2 separate regions of the Homo sapiens genome follow, and region 1 is linked to region 2. Evidence: promoter capture Hi-C in 16 types of primary human blood cells and fetal thymus (Javierre and others, 2016). All regions are on one chromosome and are shown on one strand. The core of a region is centred on a gene start or on the middle of the fragment in contact, and the rest is flanking DNA. Distances in the headings are between cores, read along the strand shown.

Region 1 (7,468 bases), core at 1,710-4,209, 230 kb before region 2:
CTAAAAATACCAAATTAGCCGGGCGTGGTGGCGCGTGCCTGTAATCCCAGCTACTCGGGAGGCTGATGCAGGAGAATCACTTGAACCCGAGAGGTGGAGGTTGCGATGAGCCAAGGTCGCGTCATTGCACTCCAGCCTGGGCAACAAGAGTGAAACTCCATCTCAAAAAAGTAAATAAATAAAAAATAAAATAAATAAATAAATAGATAAAAACATGTATGTGTGTTTTCATATGAGATAGAATGGAGTGTGTGTGTGTGTGCCTTCCGACACTGAGACACAGGAAGAGATAGCTGCTTCCCTAGAGGTGAAGCAAAGTGCATCAGACACACGTGTGCAAACCCCACCGATCCTAGCACAGCTGCCTGCACTCACCTTTGAGGCAATAATCCAGCTCGAACAGCTCACTGTCTTCCGCCTGCCTCTCCCAGAAAACCAGGTAGTGGGTGATGTTGCCATTGGGGTCGGAGGGTGGTTTCCACTTCAGAATAATCTGGGATGATGAGTTAGACACTGAGATTGGATCCAGGGGCACAGAGGGGTCTGTCAGGGAGAAAGGAAATGGGTCCATCATGAGAAACAGTGTGCAAAGAAAGCTGGTGGGAGGATGGCGGGGGACACACAAGTTAAAGACATCATGAGGGCACCCATCCCAGCATTTTGGGCGGCCAAGGCAGGCGGATCACGAGGTCAGGAGATCGAGACCATCCTGGTTAACACAGTGAAACCCCGTCTCTACTAAAAATACAAAAAATTAGCCAGGTGTGGTGGTGGGCGCCTGTAGTCCCAGCTACTTGGGAGGCTGAGGCAGGAGAATGGCGTGAACCTGGGAGGCGGAGCTTGCAGTGAGCCGAGATTGCGCCACTGCACTCCAGCCTGGGTGACAGAGCAAGAGTCCGTCTCAAAACAAAACAAAACAAAAAAGAAAAAAAAAACCACCACCAACCAACCAAACAAAACCCAAAAAACCCAAAGTAACGGAGGTGGCCGAGGGAGCTGGGGATGGGGAGGGAGTCCAAACACCTGGGAGCTAGAAGTTTCTGAAAACTGTAAGTCTTTTGGTGTCACTAAAAGATACAGGATGAATGAGCGGGGATTAACTGAAGAAGATAGGGTTGATTTATAAAGTTTGAATTCGAGGCCAGGCACAGTGGCTCATGCCTGTAATCCCAGCACTTTAGAAGGCCGAGGTGGGCGAATCATCTGAATCACCTGAGATCAGGAGTTCGAGACTACACCTGGCCAACATGGTGAAACCCTATCTCTACTAAAAAAAAAAAAAAAAAAAAAAAATTAGCTGGACATGGTGGTGGGCGCCTGTAATCTCAGCTTCCTGGGAGGCTGAGGCAGGAGAATCTTGAACCTGGGCAGAGGTTGCAGTGAGCTGAGAATGCGCCATTGAACTCCAGCCTGAGAGACAAGAGTGAAACTCCGTTAAAAAAAAAAAAAAAAAAAAAAAAGCTTGAATTTGAGCCTACAGGACGGGGTTTCTCACCCTTAGTACTATTGGCTTTTAGGACTGGATAATTCTTTGTCATGAAGGAGGGTGCATCCTGTGTGTTGCAGGACATGGAACAGCCTCTCTGGCTTCCGCCCACGAAATGCCAGTGGTTTCATCTCCACAGCTGTAACAACCAAAAATGTCTCCAGACATTGATTGGCAGCTGTTCCCTGGCAGAGCAGTTAACCTCCTTTGGGAACTACTGCTATAAGAGAAGCACTTAGGTTTTACAAAAATATAATTAGGCCGGGCCCAGTGGCTCATGCCTGTAATCCCAGCACTTTGGGAGGCCAAGGTGGGCGGATCATTTGAGGTCAGGAGTTCCAGAGCAGCCTGGCCAACATGGTGAAGCCCCATCTCTATTAAAAATACAAAAATGGCTGGGCGCGGTGGCTCATGCCTGTAATCCCAGCACTTTGGGAAGCCGAGGCAGGCGGATCACCTGAGGCTCGGAGTTCGAGACCAGCCTGACCAACATGGAGAAACCTTGTCTCTACAAAAAAAAAAAAAAAAAAAAAATTCGCCAATCGTGGTGGTGCATGCATGTAATCCCAGTTACTCGGGAGGCTGAGGCAGGAGAATCGCTTGAACCCGGGAGGCAGAGGTTGCAGTGAGCTGAGATAGGGCCATTGCACTCCAGCCTAGGCAACAAGAGCGAAACTCCATCTCAAAAAAAAAAAAAAAAAAAAAAAAGGCTGGCATGGTGGCTTATGCCTGTAATCCCAGCACTTTGGGAGGCCAAGGTGGGCAGATTGCAGGTCAAGAGATTGAGACCATCCTGGCCAACATGGTGAAATCCCATCTCTACTAAAAATACAAAAATTAGCTGGGCGTGGTGGCACGCCTGTAGTTGCAGCTACTTGGGAGACTGAGGCAGGAGAATCACTTGAACTGGGACGGGGAGGTTACAGTGAGCTGAGATCACACCACTGCACTCCAGCCTCAGTGACAGAGTGAGACTCTGTCTCAAAAAACAAAACAAAACAAAACAAAAATTAGCCAAGTGTGCTGTAATCCCAGCAACTTGGGAGGCTGAGGCAGGAGAATCACTTGAACCTGGGAGGTGGAGGTTGCAGTGAGTCCAGATGGCGCCACTGCACTCCAGCCTGGGTGACAGAGTGAGACTCCATCTCAAACAAACAAACATAATTAAATTGCTGTGAAATACTCCAGGCCAAAACAAACAACAAAACAAAAAGAAGTAACAAGTGGGAAGAGGGAACAGGCGTCGAGATGAAACAAAAATGACCAAAGGCTGAAGCTGGGAGGCGGCTAACTATGGGGTTTTGTTCTGTGTTGTGAATATTTGACAATTTTTCATAATAGGATGAAAAATATAAATATTCCCATCAAGTGGCTTGTTGCTACTGCCTCGTCTGAAACTATAAGCCTCAATACCCAGCTCCTTTAAAAGCCAATAACTGACTGGGCAAGGTGGCTCACACTTCTAATCCCAGGACTTTGGGAGGCCGAGGCAGGAGGATCACTTGAGGCCAGGGGTTCAAGACCAGCCTGGGTAACACAGCAACGTTCTGTCTCTACAAGAAATACAAAAATTAGCTGGGTATAGTGGTGCATGCCTGTAGTCCCAGCTACTCAGGAGGCTGAGGTGGGAGAATTACTTGAACCTGGGAGGCGGAGGTTGCAGTGAGCCGAGATCATGCCATTGCACTCCAGTCCGGGTGACAGAGTGAGACTTCATCTCAAAGAAAAAAAAAAAAAAAAGCCACACATGGTGGTATACTCTGGTAGTTCCTTCTACTTAGGAGGCTGAGGCAGAAGGATTGCTTGAGCCCAGGAGTTTGAGGCTGCAGTGAGCCATGATCACCCCACTGCATTGCACTCTAGCCTGGGTGACAAAGTAAGACCCTGTCTAAAAAAAAAAAAAAAGCCAATAACCATATCAAGGAGCATTTTATACAACCTCACTGCATCAGCCTATTAAAAGCAAGAGGTCTGATTCACATACGAATTCACATTCCCAAGACACACTCACTGGTGGCATCTGTCTGGACATAAATGATGTCACTCTTGGCCCCATAGGTCCGGCGTTCATCCGAAAAGGTGACCAGGGTCTTCACAAAGATGGCATACTGGGTCCAGGGCTTGAGACCCCGCATCAGCCACCCTGGGTGGTTCTGTGATTTGGGGTCGTTGGACCTCAGGGGTGGGTCAATGTCTACCACCGTCCAACTGTTGGAACCACACGCATCCTGCCCGTCGAACTCCGTCACATTCTGATAAGGGCTTTCAAGACAAAACAGCAGAAGGCAGTTACCCTTACAAGACCGTCACACTGAGTGCCGTGCAGATGAGGCCTGGGAAGTTACATCCCATAGGGTCACATGTTACTCACCCAACAATCTAATGCCACAAGAAAAAATAACTCGGGAACAGCCAAAGAGAAAGGAACTGTCAACCCTGACATCTCAATGAAAAAACACAGCTTGGGCATCCCTTATTCAAAACACTTGAGACTTGGCCAAGTGCAGTGGCTCACGCCTGTAATCCCAGCACTTTGGGAGGCCGAGAATGGCGGATCACCAGAAGTCAGGAGTTCGAGACCAGCCTGGCCAACATGGTGAAACCCCGTCTCTACTAAAAATACAAAAATTATCTGGGCATGGTGGCAGATGCTTGTAATCCCAGCTATTCAGGAGGTTGAGGCAGGAGAATTGCTTGAACCCGGGAGGCAGAGGTAGCATCAGCTGAGATCGCACCACTGCACTCCAGCCTGGGCGACAAAGGGAGACTCTGTTTCAAAAACATAAATAAATAAATAAATAAATAAATGCTTGGGACCAGAAGTGTTTTGGATTTTGGATATTTTGGGGTTTTGAAATATTTGCATTTTACTAGTTAATTTGCATTGTACTGGTTCAGCATCTCTAATCTAAAAATCTGAAATCTGAAATGCTCCAATAAGCATCTCCTTTGAGTATCAAGTCGGCCCACAAAAAGCTTTGGATTTTGGAGCATTATAAATTTCAGATTTTCAGATTAGGGATACTCAATCTGTAATAATAGTAATAGCAGGAGCTCCCTCACAAGTTACTGATAAGATTAGACTGTGTGTCAGTGCTCAGCAAGGCACAAGGTAAATCTTGAGGGCTAGAACTATTATTAATATTACTACTGGTCAGGTGCGGTGGCTCATGCCTGTAATCCCAGCACTTTGGGAGGCCAAGGTGGGCAGATCACCTGAGGTCAGGAGTTTGAGACCAGCCTGGCCAACATGGCAAAACCCGTCTCTATCAAAAATACACAAATTAGCTACGTGTGATGGTGTATGCCCATAATCTCAGCTACTCAAGAGACTGAGGCAGGAGAACTGCTTGAACCCGGGAGGCAGAGGTTGCAGTGAGCCAAGATCTGCCACTGCACTGTACCCTGGGCAACAGAGCAAGACTCTGTCTCAAAAAAAAAAAAAAAATTGGGGATAAAAAAGAAAAATAGATAAGCAATACATTTGATAACATCCACTTAGTAGACTGAGCTCCTGACTACTAAGGATGTCTGATGAGACATACACAGGCAAGGCAAAATAGAATATTGCCCCAGGAAACTGGCCAGTCCGGGCTTCTATGGGAAAGCTGTCTGCTTCCATTTTAGGCATTTGATAAAAGCAGACACTATTGACTTTGCATGCCATCGACTGGTGAGATTGTAAAAAGGAACCTAAGATATTTATTCCAGGAGGAGGAGGGAGATAGACAGGAACCCAAGAGGGGCAGATTGGAGCACAAACGTAGCAAGCACAGAGCCAGCCAGCCCTCGCCTCCTCAGCGTCTCTCTAACTCTTCTACTTACGCCTCTTTGTAGAACAGCATGAACCCCAAGAGGTCTCGGAAGTCGGGGGGCCAGTACGGCTCCCATCTCAGCAAGATCTTGTCAAAAGATGTCCGAATGTAAGAAAATTTAAGTAACTCATTTTCACCTGGAAAAGTTAAAACAAAAGGCAAAAATGAGCTATTTCAGTGTAGTTTCAGACCAAAGCCTGGGACCCCCACACTTCCTGGAGGGACCGTGAGAAGGCAGAGGTGACGCTGCTATTCCCTTAAGGGTCTCCTCCCCATGTGCCTGGCTGAGTATGAATGGGGGAAGATTCAAAGGTAAGAGCCAGTTTTGCAACTTGGCCACTCACACTCACGTAAGCCAATGACTTGACTCAGCCAGACAGTCAACTGAATAAGCGCAGTCTGTACCCGCGCAAGAAGGACAACCGGCCAATAGTTATTGGAGGAAGGGATTTCCAAGGGTGATGTTTGTCCTGACACAACGTTGTCTCGCATATGGACTTGTAAGACTGACCTGGAAGGAGGTGCAACTCCAGTGCAAATAAACCTATGCCAAGTGAGTTTAGAGACCCTGCAGATCATTAGACATCGGAGAGACGCATCTAAGTAATTCTCTCTGCCTAGAAGACAAACCCTCTCCTAAACCTCACCCCAACCTCGCTCTCTCTCCTTGCACTACATTTTTTTTGAGACAGTCTTGCTCTGTCACCAAGGCTGGAGTGCAGTCCACCTACCGGGTTTAAGCAATTCTCATGCCTCAGCCTCTCAAGTAGCTGGGATTACAGGCACCCACCACCACGTCCAGCTAGTTTTTGTATTTTTTTTTTTTAGTAGAGATGGAGTTTCACCACATTGGCCAGGCTGGTCTCGAACTCCTGACCTCAAGTGATCTGCCTGCCTCGGCCTCCCAGAGTGCTGGGATTCCAGGCGTGAGCCACCATGCCCAGCCCTTGCACTACATTTTGACATAAGTAACTAACTCCCCATGAAGGTATCCCAGAAGCCCTTGGCAGCTCACTGTTTAGAATCTGTCAGGGAAGTGCAGTCAGCAGGCAGCCTGCAGCTGCAGAAACTGCAGGACCTGCTGTAGCATTCCAGCCAAAACCTGACTCTCCCTGGACAGCCCCCACCTATGACTGAGCTTGGTAGATGCCTGGCCGTCCCTTTGCAATGCAGAACTTCCCTGCAGACAACCGTGGCCTTGATCTCTTTCTGGGTTTGGCCAAGACTCAGGGATGCATCACCATCTGAGACTCTCCCAGCCCTATCCTCCCTCCTTCCCGCTCTCTGTTCACAGAGGTCAGACACACGCTATTGTCAAAAGGCTCTTCATGGCTGAGCGTGGTGACTCACACCTGTAATCTCAGCACTTTGGGAGGCCGAGGCGGGAGGATCACCTGAGGTCAGGAGTTCAAGACCACCCTGGCCAACATGGCAAAACCCTGTCTCTACTAAAAATACAAAAAAAAAAATTAGCCGGGCTTGGTGGCATGTGCCTGTAATCCCAGCTATTCTGGAGGCTGAGGCGAGATAATTACCTGAACCCAGGGGAAGGAGGTTGCAGTGAGGCAAGATCACGCCACTGCACTCCAGCCCTGGGTGACAGAGCAAGACTCTGTCCCAAAAAAAAAAAAAAAAAAAAAAGAAGCTCTTCCTCTGTTTCATATTTTATGAATATTACCCTCAATACATTTTCTGCACTCCTAACTTCAACTTGGCAGTCACTTCCCAGGAGATGCAGACTGACATAGGTATTTTACTCAACTTTGAAGTCTTCAGCATCAGCCTGATACACATATAAGAAGGTGTCATCCATTCATCCATCATTCATTCATCCATTCATTCAGTGCTTGTATGACTTCATCCCGTATCCGGTACTATATGGCACAGTAAGCATAGTGATAATATTAATAAATGTGCAGAATCTGCCCTCAGTAAGAAAGCCTATCACACAGTGAGTTGTTAGAGGGAAGTAATACCCCCTGGGGGTGACTGTGATGGATGAGAGAGGACAGCCACATTATCTGGTTTGTGGACCACTTACAGCAGGGGTCCCCAGCCCCTGGGCCACAGACCAGTACTTATCCATGGCCTGTTACGAACAGGGCTGTACAGCAGGAGGTGAGTGATAGGTGAGCAAGTGAAGCTTCATCTGTATTTACAGTCACTC
Region 2 (7,363 bases), core at 4,576-7,075:
TCTGCCTCCTGGGCTCAAGCAATCCTCCCACCCTAGCCTCCCAAGTAGCTGGGACTAGAAGTGCATGCCATCATACCAGGATAATTTTTTTTTTTTTTTTTTTTTTTGTAGAAACAGGGTTTTGTCACATTGCCCAAGTTGGTCTTGAACTCCTGGGCTCAAGCGATCCACCCACCTCAGCCTCCCAAAGTGCTGGGATTACAGGTGTGAGCCACTGCATCCACCCTACATTTTCTTCCTTCCTTCCTTCCTTCTTCCTTCCTCCCTTCCTTCCTTCCTTCCTTTCTTTCTTTCTTATTTACTTATTTTTTTTTTTTTGAGATGGAGTCTTGCTGTGTCACCCAGGCTGGAGTGCAGTGGCACAATCTTGGCTCACTGCAACCTCCACCTCCTGGGTTCAAGCTACTCTCCTGTCTCAGCCTCCCGAGTAGCTGGGATTACAGGCGTATGCCACCATGCCTGGCTAATTTTTTGTATTTTTAGTAGAGACAGGGTTTCGCCGTGTTGGCCAGGCTGGTCTCGAACTCCTGGCCTCAAGCGATCCGCCCACGAGTCGTGACATCCAGCCCACTCTCAGGGTGGTGGGAATTAAGCTCTTTCTCCTGGAGACATCATTTGATTTTGATTTGCAGGACAACCCTTTGAGGTCAAGAAAGATTTGAGTTTGTGTGAAAGAAATGATGTGGGGCCGGGCGCGGAAGCTCACTCCTGTAATCTCAGCGCTTTGGGAGGCTGAGGCAGGAGGATCCCTTGAGTTCAGGAGTCTGGGCAATATAGTGAGACCCTCGTCTCTACAAAAAAAATGTTTAAAAGTTAGCCAGGTGTGGTGGCACTCGCCTATAATCCTAGCTACTCGGGAGGCTGAGGTGGCAGCATTGCTTGAGCCCAGGTGTTCAAAGCTACAGTTAGCTATGATTTGCCACTGCCCTCTAGCCTGTGCCACAGAGCAAGACCCTGTTCCTAAAAAGAAAAAAGAAATAATGTGGGTAAAGGCTGGGCGTGGTGGCTTACACCTGTAATCCCAGCACTTTGGGAGACCAAGGTGGGAGGATCACTTGAGGTCAGGAGTTTGAGACCAGCCTGGCCAACATGGTAAGACCCCATCTCCATTAAAAACACAAAACAATTAGCGGGGCATGGTGGCACATGCCTGTAATCGCAGTTACTCAGGAGGCTCAGGTGGGAGGATCCCTTGAACCCAAGAGGTGGAGGTTGCAGTGAGGCAAGATTGCGCCACTGCACTTCAGCCTGGGTGACAGAGCGAGACTCTGTATCAAAAAAAAAAAAAAAAGAAAAAAGAAAAGAAAAGAAAAGAAAGAAAAATGATGTGGGTAGCACTCACTTAGCATGATGTCTGGTACACACGGGCAATGGTATCTTGTATCATCATCATCATCCTCTTCATTTTTTGTTATTGTCATTTAAAGTCTTTCAGCCAGTAAGCGGCAAAGCTAGCATTTAAATCATAGACGCTTGCCTCTGCAAAGCTGCAAAAACAAATAAAAATAATAATAAATCACAGACCAAGCCAGGTGTGGTGGCTTACGCCTGTAATCCTAGCACTTTGGGAGGCCGAGGAGGGAAGATCACGAGGTCAAGAGAGGGAGACCATCCTGGCCAACATGGTGAAACACCGTCTCTACTAAAAATACAAAAATTAGCTGGGTGTGGTGGCGCCTGCCTGTAGTCCCAGCTACTTGGGAGACTGAGGCAGGAGAATCACTTGAACCCGGGAAGCAGAGGTTGCAGTGAGCTGAGATCACACCACTGCACTCCAGCCCGTTGACAGAGTGAGACTCTGTCTCAAAAAAATAAATAAATAAAATAAAAATAAAAAAATAAATCACAGACCCTAACCCTGTTCTCTGACAACAAACCCCTCCCCACCTGTGTCAGGAGGCATGAAGGGGCCAAAACACCCATGTCTCATTCCCAGCAGGCTGAGAAAAGTCCTCCCAAGGTATAACTCCCCACAGGCCTACCTGCTTTTAAAGGTATTCAAAGTCAACGTGACAGTCTGTCCCGTTTCCTCCCGTCCGTGGGACAGACGGAGGAAACAGCCTCACAGTAAGTTAAACAAACAGAACAGAGAATGAGTCATACTCCAGGTAATTAGAGAAGGTGGGTCTCCACGATAAAGTTGGGATGCTTTTCAGAGAACAGACACCACGCCAGACAGTCCTGTTCCTGGCCTTGACCTTTGAGGCTGTTTATAATTCAACCCCACCTATCCCTCCACGCTTCTCTCCCACTACTCAGGTTCTCCGGACTCCACGGCCCAGTCACCCTGAAGTCTCATGGCTGTTCATACACGTCATACACATACGCTGTGCCTTGCTCATCCAGCGCTGTTCCTGGAACTCCCTCTCCCACCTAACTCTTACTCATCCTTTTAAGACAAAGCCCAGGCCCACTTCCTCCAGGAAGTCGGAATTAGGCTGGATAAGTGTCTGAATGTCTCTTAGGCCAGTTGCTCTCAGCCAAGGAAACATCTGGAGGCATTTTTTTCAGGACCAGGGGAGCCACTGGCATCTAGGAGGTAGAGACCAGGGATGCCGCTCAACACCCTCCAGTGCATAGGAGACCACCCCTGCCACCACCACCGAGAATTATCCAGCCCTAATTGTCGAAAGTGCCAAGCTGAGAAAACCCTGCTCTGGGCCTAAGCTCCTTGCATCTCCTTAGCTCCTAGCGCCCCTGGTCCATGCTAAAGACTCATAAATGAGGCCAGGTGTGGTGGCTCACGCCTGTAATCCCAGCACTTTGGGAGGCTGAGGCAGGCAGATCACCTAAGGTCAGGAGTTCAAGACCAGCCTGGCCAACATGGTAAAACCCCATCTCTACAAAAAATACAAAAATTAGCCAGATGTAGTGGCGGGTGCCTGCAATCCCAGCTACTCGGGAGGCTGAGGCAGGAGAATTGCTTCAATCTGGGAGGTGGAGTTTGCAGTGAGCCAAGATGGCACCACTGCACTCCAGCTTGGGCAACAGAGTGAGACTCCGTCTCAAAAAAAAAAAAAAAAAAAAAGACTCATAAATGCAGAATGGTTGGATGGATAAAAGAAAGATGGGAGATGTTTCTCCTTCCTAGTTGTCTCTGAGAAAGTTGGTTTCTATGTTTAGGGGAGGGCTGTGTCCACCTGAAGTTTCCTATAACCAAGATAGCTATAGAAATAAGGCTGATGGCCAGACCCAGTGGCTCACGCCTGTAATCCCAGCACTTTGGGAGGCCAGGGTGGGAGGATCACTTGAGGTCAGGAGTTCAAGACCAGTCTGGCCAACATGGTGAAACCCTGACTCTACTGAAAAAAAAACAAAAAAAAAACACAAAAATTAGCCAGGCTTGGTGGTGCATACCTGTAATTCCAGCACTCGGGAGGCTGAGGCAGGAGGATCACTTGAACCCAGGAGGTGGAGGCTGCAGTGAGCCTAGATGGTACCACTACACTGCAGCCTGGGTGACAGAGTGAGACTCTGTCTCAAGAAAGAAAAAAAAAAAAAAAGAAAGAAAAAGAGAAAGAAAGAAATAAGGTTCAAAGGCCGGGCATGATGGCTCACACCTACAATCCTGGCATCATAGGAGGCCCAGGCGGGCAGATCACTTGAGCTCAGGAGTTCGAGACCAATCTAGGCAACATGGCGAAACTCTGTCTCTACAAAAAAATTAGCCAGACGTGGTGGTGTGTGCCTGTGGTCCCAGCTACTTGGGAGGCTGAGGTGGGAGGACAACTTGAGCCCAGGAGATGGAAGCTGCAATGAGCTATGATTGTGCCACTGCACTTCCAGCCTAAGTGACAGAGTGAGATCCTGTCTCAAAAAAAAAAAAAAAAAAAAAAAAAGGAAAAAAAATAAGGTTCATGCCCCTAAGTCCATAAGCCACAGCTACACAGCTGCCCAACCATTGAGCCCTCATAAACTCCCGTGTTAGAGTTTCTGACCTCAGCTGCAGTAGGGTGCCTGGTGAATTACGTCTTGCATTTCTGGGACATCCAATTCCCTGAACATGCTCCCTTCCTCTGGACCATGAAGGTTGGACTTGAACTGAAGGCTAGTCCACCTGGGGACGCAACCCTCCAGCTTCTGAACTGGGGACTCTCAACAACATATTGTGCATGTTTTGAAGTGATTGGGTTTGGGGAAATCTTTTTTTCTAAAATAGAGACTGGGTCATGCGAGGTTTCCCAGGCTGATCTCAAAGCTCCTGGACTCAAGTGATCCTCCCTCCTCAGACTCCCAAAGTGTTAGGATTACAGGCATGAGCCGTCTTGCCTGGCCATGGGGAGATCTTCTAGGCCTGGCTGACCAGCCAACCTTGGTGAGAGCTGTTCTGCTCGACTCCTGGTTACTGTTCAACTGCCTCCCCTGTGGCAGGACTTGGATTAGACAGGCAACCTCAAGACTGGGGTGTCTGATGGCAATTGAGAGGTTGCTGGTGCTGGGGGAAGCATCTGGCCTATCCACATCTGCCAAATAGCACCTGTGTGGAAGTGGATAGGGGAGGGTATGGTATGTGTTTCAGACTCTGAGCACCTGTTTGAGGGTATCTGACAGCATCTGTATTGGGGTTATCTAGTATGTGTTTGGGGGTATCTGCTGGACCTATGTGGAGTGTCTGACATATTTGGGGGTTACCTGGAAGCCTGTTTTGGGTATCTGATGGCACCTGCCTGGGTGCCTGTGTTTAGGGGATCTGATGGTATCTATGTTGGGGTGTCTGAGACCACTGGAGAGGTATATGATTCATTTTTCCCAGACCCACCTTTCTGAAGTCTATGCTGCCTCTTTTTTTGTTGTTGTTATTTTGAGACAGAGTCTTGCTCTGTTGTCCAGGCTGGAGTGCAGTGGCATGATTATAGCTCACTGCAGCCTGGACCTCCCAGGCTCAAGTCATCCTCCCACCTCAGCCTCTGGAGGCATGATCATAGCTCACCGCAGCCTGGACCTCCCAGGCTCAAGTCATCCTCCCACCTCAGCCTCTGGAGGAGTTGGGACCACAGGCAGGCGCCTCCATGCCCTGCTCATTTTAAAAAATGTTTTGTAGAGATGGGGTCTTGCTATGTTGCCCAGACTGGTGGTCCTGAACTCCTGGGATGAAGTGATCCCCCCACCACTCCCTGATGCTGCTTCTTTTTTCTCAGGTGACAGACCCTGCCCTCTCCATTTCTTGGACTCTCCCCGCTAGGACTCCCCACCACTGGGAGTGCCCCCCTTAGGTACTTCCAATCCTAACGAGCCCGTAGGAGCCCACTGACAACCCCTCCAGGCATCCGTTGATTCTTCCAAAACACCCCCAGCTCCACTGTCCTCCCTTGGGGTCCCCTTAACCCCGCTATCCTCCCTCGGGGTCCCCCAACTCCGCTGTCCTCCCTCGGGGTCCCCCCAACCCCGCTGTCCTCCCTTGGGGTCCCCCAACCCCGCTGTCCTCCCTCAGGGTCCCCCTAACTGTGCTGTACCCCCCTTGAGATTCTCCAAACCGCTGTCCTCCTCAGGACTCCCTCCCCAGCCGCGCTAATCACCCAGGCTTCCGTTAACCCCACAAAACGCCCACCTAACCCTGCTGCTCTCCCTCTGGATCCCCGCAACCCAGCTGTCCCCTCAGAGCCCCCGGCCCTACTGACAGCCAGGCTCGCATTGCTCTCCTTCAAAAAGCCCCCCAACCCCGCTGACCCGCCCCTCAAAAGTCGCCCTCACCCTCGCCGCGAGCACCCTCCCACTTCGGTGCCCGCGCCCCTCTCAAGGCCGAGCCGACGCCCCCTCACCACGGCTCGGGGAGCAGCAGCCCCAGGTCCCCGGGAGCGCCCCGCCCTCGAGGGCACGCCTCCTTCCGGGTCACGCCCTCTGCCCCGCCTCCGAGGCGGGATCGCGCATGCGCTGCTCTCCTCGCGCGGCTTCCCGCTTCCGGCTCCCAGCTGCTAGCTACTGTGGATCTGGGGGGGCCGGACGGAGGCATCGGAGGCGGCTGCGAGAGTGGCAGAGGAGCTGGCGGAGAGCGGCCTGCGGGCGATCGGGCCGAGGTGAGGACGGCGGCGGGGCGGTCCCGAGGAAAACGGGGCTCAGGAGGGGGCCCTCGGTCTCTTCAGGGGGTGGCCTGGGGCGCGGGACCCCCGGGGCTGCCTCGGGCCTCCCGCCGGCTCCTGGGGGACTTCTCCAGGCAGGCGAACGGGTGCTGGGGTGCAGGCTGCTCCTTCAATGCATGGAGGCTCTAGGCGGCGATTGCAGGGTGCAGAGGTGCAGACGATGCCCGCCCGCTCCGTCCGAGCCCCAGCCAGTCCTGGGGTGCTACGGCTTACTCTCCTCCAGGAGAGGAGAGGAGGGGTCACTTGGGCCCCAGCCTCTGCTCCTCGTTCAGGAGCGCCCGGGGCAGGACCAGGGATGGAATGGAACCCACCACAATACCCAGCACCGTCGTATTTCAGGCCTCCCGGGAGAACCCTCACACCCCGGAGCAGACAGCCCTCCCTGGCAGGGAGCGTTTGGGTGCAAAACCGTGAGAACTATCTGTGCCATGGGTTTTAGTTTCTTGTATAAGAACTCAGTTGGTGCTTTCATTGCGGACGGGAACGAGAAGCTTTCCCCTGGTCCTTACATGTTTCGTTTTGTTTTACGTTTTTAAATTTCAACTTTTATTTGAGATTGAGGGGGTACATGTACAGGTTTGTTACCTGGATATATTGCGTGATGCTGAGGTTTGGGGTGTGACTGATCTCGTCACCCAGGTACTGAGCATAGTACTCAATAGATAGTTTCAACCCTTGACCTCCTCCTTCCCTTCCCGCTCTAGTAGAGCCCAGTTTCTGTTGTCTTCTTGGTGTCCATGAGTACCCAAGGTTTAGCTCCACTTACAAGTGGGAAAGTGCAGTATTTGGTTTTCTTTTCCTGCGTTAATTCTACTAGCACTTGAGTGTTTTGCTGTGGCTATCTGCCCCTTATCTCTTGCTCTGTTGAGATTAAAGCCTGGACCACAGGATTAAAAAACATTCTTAAAGTTTTACCACGGAAGCGAAGCGGCCAACACACCTTTTCCCCTTTGCCTTGTTTTCGCGGAGATGAAGCTCCAGCCAGTAGCTTTGAAGGGCCCCATTCTCTTCCCATTGACCAGAGAGAGAGTTCAGGACAGTATAGACAGCCCAGTGGCCAAGGGATGAGTTTTGCAGGTGTCTGAGTGAATGATTAATCCTCCAGCTGTAAGAGGTGTCAGGAGAGGCTGGGCGCGGTGGCTCAAGCCTGTAATCCCAGCACTTTGGGAGGCCAAGGTGGGTGGATCACGAGGTCAGGAGATCGAGACCATCCTGGCCAACATGGTGAAACCCCATCTCTACTAAAATACAAAAATTAGCCGGGCATGGTAGCGGGCGCCTGTAGT

What was found. The method cuts DNA at HindIII sites, captures the fragments that hold promoters and counts their contacts. A CHiCAGO score of 5 or more calls a contact.
Region 1: a contact is called between a fragment that was not itself captured here and the fragment with the promoter of ARHGEF18-AS1 in region 2, in 1 of 17 cell types (naive B cells). The highest score is 5.0, in naive B cells.

Annotation. Positions count from the first base shown.
Region 1 is chr19:7,162,657-7,170,124 of GRCh38, forward strand. INSR (insulin receptor) reads right to left here. Exons shown (of 22, transcript NM_000208.4): 7 at 5,312-5,438; 8 at 3,498-3,748; 9 at 376-543. Among named protein-coding and RNA genes, the nearest start is that of ZNF557, 97 kb to the left of the region's middle. The HindIII fragment of the contact is 3,001 bases long and covers 1,460-4,460 here.
Region 2 is chr19:7,389,234-7,396,596 of GRCh38, forward strand. It overlaps ARHGEF18-AS1 (ARHGEF18 antisense RNA 1), which reads right to left and starts at 5,826. Exons shown (of 2, transcript NR_186326.1): 1 at 5,760-5,826; 2 at 1-1,487. All of the region lies in intron 10 of ARHGEF18 (Rho/Rac guanine nucleotide exchange factor 18), which reads left to right. RefSeq lists silencers at 5,585-6,025, 5,734-6,303 and an enhancer at 6,514-6,693. The HindIII fragment of the contact is 12,223 bases long and covers 1-6,566 here.